Regions from separate parts of the Homo sapiens genome. Here region 2 is linked to region 1. The links are contacts of gene promoters, found by promoter capture Hi-C in human tissues and cell types (Jung and others, 2019). All regions are on one chromosome and are shown on one strand. Each heading gives the region's core, a stretch centred on a gene start or on the middle of the fragment in contact. The rest is flanking DNA. Distances are from core to core; before and after follow the strand shown. Region 1 holds the start of IGFBP5 (insulin like growth factor binding protein 5). Region 2 overlaps DIRC3 (disrupted in renal carcinoma 3).

What was found. The method cuts DNA at HindIII sites, captures the fragments that hold promoters and counts their contacts. A contact is called where the count stands out against the background at its distance.
Region 2: a fragment that was not itself captured here is called in contact with the fragment with the promoter of IGFBP5 in region 1 in 2 of the 25 tissues and cell types used here (bladder and lymphoblastoid cells).

Annotation. Positions count from the first base shown.
Region 1 is chr2:216,694,065-216,696,800 of GRCh38, forward strand. It overlaps IGFBP5 (insulin like growth factor binding protein 5), which reads right to left and starts at 1,485. Exons shown (of 4, transcript NM_000599.4): 1 at 375-1,485. The coding sequence starts at 711. It overlaps IGFBP-AS1 (IGFBP5 antisense RNA 1), which reads left to right and starts at 382. Exons shown (of 6, transcript NR_187138.1): 1 at 382-697. The HindIII fragment of the contact is 12,405 bases long and covers 1-2,736 here.
Region 2 is chr2:217,351,210-217,353,909 of GRCh38, forward strand. The region is part of intron 8 of DIRC3 (disrupted in renal carcinoma 3); the gene reads right to left. Among named protein-coding and RNA genes, the nearest start is that of DIRC3-AS1, 70 kb to the left of the region's middle. The HindIII fragment of the contact is 3,014 bases long and covers 1-2,700 here.

The sequences.
Region 1 (2,736 bases), core at 235-2,734:
GAGGGGGGTGGAGGAGGGAGTTGATAATGTAACATACACTCTTTCAGACTGTAGATAGGGTACCAGGGGATTTGGACCTTGTGACCGAATAAGAGCTCAGAATCAGTATTCGGACAGAGTAGGGGGAGGGGGCGGGCAACGTGTGGGTAGGAGGAAGGAGAAAGAGCGAAAGCTGGGATAGACTCGGCTAGACAGTTCCCCCGGGTAGCAGGATCCTCCAGGGCTCCAATTCCGGGGTGCAAGGACCCTCCCCGACTACTCCCGAGCTGCACCCCAGCTCGAAGCCACTTGCTGCGCAAAGCGCGCGGGCCCAGCCGGTCTCGTGTCCCCCGCCCGTGCGCCGCGTAACTGACTGGCACACTGAGCGCGCTCACCGATCTTGACTTGCTCGCGGTAGCTCTTTTCGTTGAGGCAAACCCCGCGGCCGTGCAGCAGGGCGTGCAGCGGCTTCTCCTCGTCCTGCCGGGGGAGGCAGCGCAGCCCCTGGGCGCAGCGCTCGGTGTAGACGCCGCACGACTGCCCCTCGGCCAGGGCGCAGGTCATGCAGCAGCCGCAGCCCGGCTCCTTGACCAGCTCGCAGCCCAGGGGGCTGGGGGGGCACATGGAGAGGGCTTTCTCGTCGCAGGGCTCGCAGTGCACGAAGGAGCCCAGGCTCTGGGCCGGCCCCGCATAGGCGGCCAGCAGCAGGAGGACCGCGGTGAGCAACACCATCTTCTCTTAGTCGCCCCCTTTACCTCGGGGTGGGGCAGGAGAGCGAGAGTGCAGGGATAAAGGGGCCAAGAGGGCCCCCGGAGATTTTTTTGTTTTTGTTTTTGTTTTAAAATTTCTGGCAGGTAGAGCAGGTGCCCTCCCCCAGACACTTGCAAAAATGTAGAGAGAGGTGGAGGGCTGGGGTGCCTGCGAGCAGGTCCCAGTTGCAAGAATTAAAGCCTTGCAACAGGTTGGGGGAAGCAGGGCAGCGCCAGGTGCACGCAGTGAGCGGAGGCCGGAGAAACCCTCAAGCCTGAGCGGGTCAGAATTATAGGGGAAAAAAAGCCACAAAATTGTTCACCCCCAAGCAACCACCGAAATAATGAGATCGGATGCAGTGGAGATGGCGTTGGGGGTGGGAGAGAAAAATGGATTTATCTTTAAAATTTTTGCTTAAAATCTAAAATACACCCCGCTTTCTAACCCTCAGCTGCCAGCGGTGCGCGGCGCCGCAGAACAGGTAAGAGGCGTTGGCTGCAGCCGAGAGGGTGGGAGAAAATGTTGAAATCAAGAAATTAAAAAACAAAAACAAAAACAAAAAAACCCCAAACCCTAACACCTCTTTTCTCCCACTTTGCCACCTCCTCTTCGAAATTCGCAGGTTCTACGCGAAGTCCGGAGAAGGGTGAAAACGGAGGAGGGGTAATGAAAAGGAGCAAAAAAGGGAAAAAGCCCACACTGCTTTGCAGCTCTTTCCTAGCTCTTTTCCCCTGCAGAAGTTTCCAAAGAGACTACGGGGCTCCGGGAGAGCAGGCGCTTTTAAATAGCCGGCCCCTGGCTGCCAGCCAGTTTGTAGCTGCAATTTGAGCTTCCCAACACCCAACTCAGGCAAGGATGCCAAGGAGCTTTGCAGTACAAACTCACACGGGGTGGGGGTGGGGAGAGGCCTTCTAGACACAAGGGGGCTCCCCTTCGCTCCCTGAACAGCGCCCTCCTCCCCTCTGAACAGCGCCCTCCTCCCCCCGGAATGTAAGAAAGGGGCAAGGGGGACAGGCTGGGGCTACCGAGAATGGGGAGGAGGTGGAGGGGCCAGTGGAAGACAGAGTTCTTCGGAGCAGGGTGAACACAATGAGGAGAGTAACTTCGTCTCCCCTTCCCTCCTATCCTTTAAGTAGTCAAGGCACAGGCTGAAGGGAGACGTATTTTCTTATTAGCCAACTGGATATACCGTGCCCAAGAAATCTTCCTAAGCTTCTGCAATTGACTGTATGCTGGTGTCTGTTTCCATGTGGGGTGTGTGTGTGTGTGTGTTTGGGGGACAGGTAGTGTAGAATGGCCAGTGATGTCTGGTGAGCTAAATTTAAAAAAGAAGAAAAAATTGAATTTCTCCCCTAAAAGTCTGGAGAAGAGGATTTAATCAGGGGGTTTCAGTACTCATGATGAAGAGGTGACCAGTTGCCTTCAGCTGCGTTGGCCAGGGAGGTTCTCTCTCTCTTTCTCTCTCTCTGTGTGTGTGTGTGTATGTGTGTGTGTTGTGTATCTGCAGGAATGGACATTCATACAACAGCATTATTGAGAGCAGTGAGTTGCAGAGATGGACACTTTGGAGGAAATGCTAAGTCTGAAAACCTTGCATGGTGGCCTAAAGTGTCCTTGTGTGTGGGGTTCTTAGAGGGAAGAAAGGTGGATTGGAGTGACACTTCCCTCTCTGTCACTTTGCAGAGGTATTTCTATTGGGCAGGGCCACATCCCTGGAGGGAGTGGGTGGCAGAGTAGCTGGAGGAGACCTTGTGATAGGTTGACAGGTTAGTTGGTGCTTATAGGCACATCCCAGGAATATGAGCTGACAGGGCCACAGGACCTGCTTGGAAGAGGTCCTGACCAGGAACCGAATCATGCCACTAGAACCTCTTTAATAAAATGAAAGAAAACTAAGGCCTTGAAATAGGAAGGTGGTGGTTTTAGCTTTTTCTGAAATTGACCTGAGTGAGCCATGAGCCTCACAGGCAAGTCAGAGAGAAATGACCAATGTCACTGCCCCTGCTG
Region 2 (2,700 bases), core at 167-2,666, 660 kb after region 1:
TGCCTTCTTTGCATGTTCATGCAGGCAAAGGGGGCCACTCAGGGCAGCAGAGAGTCCTCTGTTCTGAGTGCCTAGTTTCACTTGTCAGCAGCATTGATGCAGGGGCGGGGCTCTGTAGGGGCAGGGCTGATGGGTTCTGTGCCCACCAAGGCTCAGACTGCAATGGCAGTATGGTGGTGGGGGTTAGGGTGTTGGGGGGCACTCACATTGGCAGCAGCGGCAGGGCAGGATGCACGCTCACACGCATGCTGGCAGGTCAGGGAAGGCAAAATCTGCCCAGGCACACACGTGCTGGCAAAGATATGTGGGGGGTGGCCATGGCCCAGGGGAAGCTACAGTGGGCAGAGGGAGTGAGCAAGCTGGTGCATGTCCATGGGGGCTGCTCTGCTGGAGCTCTCTGCTGGTCAGGTGTGGTCCACCAGTGCAGGAGCTGTGATGTAGGCCCCCAGGGCACCCGAGGCTGCACTGCAAGCAGGTGTGGTTCAGCTGGGGCTCTGGGAGAGGCCAGCAGACCAAGGGGTGCACAAGAGCCCTGTCTGATGGGCAAAACCTCCCCTCACAGTTCAGGTCTGACAGTTCCCCTAGGGCTAAAATCTTCTATGGGAAGAAGGCAAGCCTAAGGGGATGGGCATCTACAGCCAACCTCTGCTACAGATGCTCCTGCACCAAACCCTCTGGGCTCTACAGGGACTAGAGTACTGTCCCTACCATTTCTCTGGCAGCTCTCCCTGCCAACTCAAGTGTCTCTGGTTGTAGAGGGGTCTCCCTCTGCCAGGATTCAGGAGATCCATGGCGAGAGCAGGTTGCTCCTTGCCAGATCAACTCACATGTTCTCCCAGTCACTGGGGGCCAAGAACAAGTTCTGGTGTACAGCAGCCCCATGTGGGATTTCCAGCTTCTTTCTCCTTCAGCCCAGCTTCTGTGTCTTCCCTCTGTCCACTCTCAGTGCCTTTCCTCTGAAGATCTGTTAGGAGCATGCCAGTCATCCAGGTACCTCGGTGGCAGCTGTTCCACTTAGCTGAGTCTAGTTGGCCATCTTGCCTCAAATCCCTCCTTTAATATTTCTGTAGATGTCTTCCTATTTAGTTTTACTTAACTATGCTACTTGGTAAAACAATTTATGGAGAACTAATAGTAATAATAACAATACAGTTAATAGTAATAATAACAATAACAACCAGATAGTTTCTACTGAGGATTTTTCAGGTACTATGCTTTGTGCTAAGTCCTGTTCTTGAATAAGCTTATTTAATATTTCTAATTACCCTTGACTTGGGTATCATTATTATTATTTTTTGTTTGTTGGTTTTTGAAGCGGAGTCTCACTGTCTTGCCCAGGCTGGAGTACAGTGGCACAATCTTGGCTCACTGCAACCCCCACCTCCAGGGTTCAAGCAGTTCTCCTGTCTCAGCCTCCCCAGTAGCTGGGACTACAGGCACCAGCCACCATAACTGGCTAATTTTTGTATGTTTAGTAGAGACAGGGTTTCACCATGTTGGCCAGGCTGGTCTCGAACTCCAGACCTCAAGTGATCTGCCTGCCTCAGCCTCTCAAAATGTTGGGATTGTACAGGCATGAGCCACCACTCCTGGCCAACTTGAGTATAATTATTATCCCTATTTTACAGGGAAAACAGAGGTGACTAGGGGTAAAGAAACTTTCCCCAAATCACATTGCTAGCCTGTAGTTCAGTTGGGATTTAAACTTTGGCAGTCTGGCTCGAGATTTACTTTTAGGATTTTGAGGCATGCTTGAATTTGCTTGTGGCTCCTTTCCTTCCCCTGGGCTTCCAAACACAATGGTGTGTTTTGGGAATATTCAAGGGTGCCATTTGAAAGCAACAATGTAAGATTCCTCCAACTCTATACGCTGCCCACTCAAGGTGTGGTCATCCACCTTGCCCAGGGTTGGGAGATGAAGGAACAGGTTCTTTCCTAGCATGTATTGTCCAGATGCTGAGTTTTTCCAAAGGATACTAAAGTCTTTATCTCACCCTACTTTTGACAAAGGGAGTGGTTGAGGTGGTTATGGATGAGGTGTTTCTCCTGCCATGCTACTTCAGCTGGGATGACTTATTGGATGTCTTCCTAATAGTTTGTAGAGCAAAAGAAGTGGAGGGGTTGGGGTTTGTGGGTGATAGGTGTAGAATAAATGGGGGTGGGGCAAGAAGGCAAGATTTGTATTCACACAGGGGACTGCCTTCAGGGTGCCTCATAGTGGAGGCTATTCATCAAAACCACTAGGGCCCCAGGGACATGAAGCCTAGGGATTTAGAGCATATTCCATCAGTTTAATTACTGGTGAGATCTGAGGTTACAAAGGAGAAGCTGATCAAATAGCTGCTGACCTTCTTCTAGCTACACTGACCCCACATATAAGGTTCTCCTAAGTTTATGGGCTCCTCACCTCACCTCTCCTTATTCCCCCTCCCCACATTTTGCAGTTGGTAAAATGACAAGCTTCTTCCAGTTCAATGCTCTTAACCCAAGGAGATAGTAGCTGCCATGGCAGAAATAAAGGCAGCAGATAAATCCAGTTGACAAAAAAGCCCTTACACTCACAGAGGCCTTGTTCCTCATTTCTGCCAGAGTGTTGAGCAGGAAACGAGCAGATATTCCTCCGGTCAGTATTTACTGAACATATGTTTTGTCTCAGGAATAGGAGACATAGCATTGAAAAAGTCACATAGGGCTCCTACC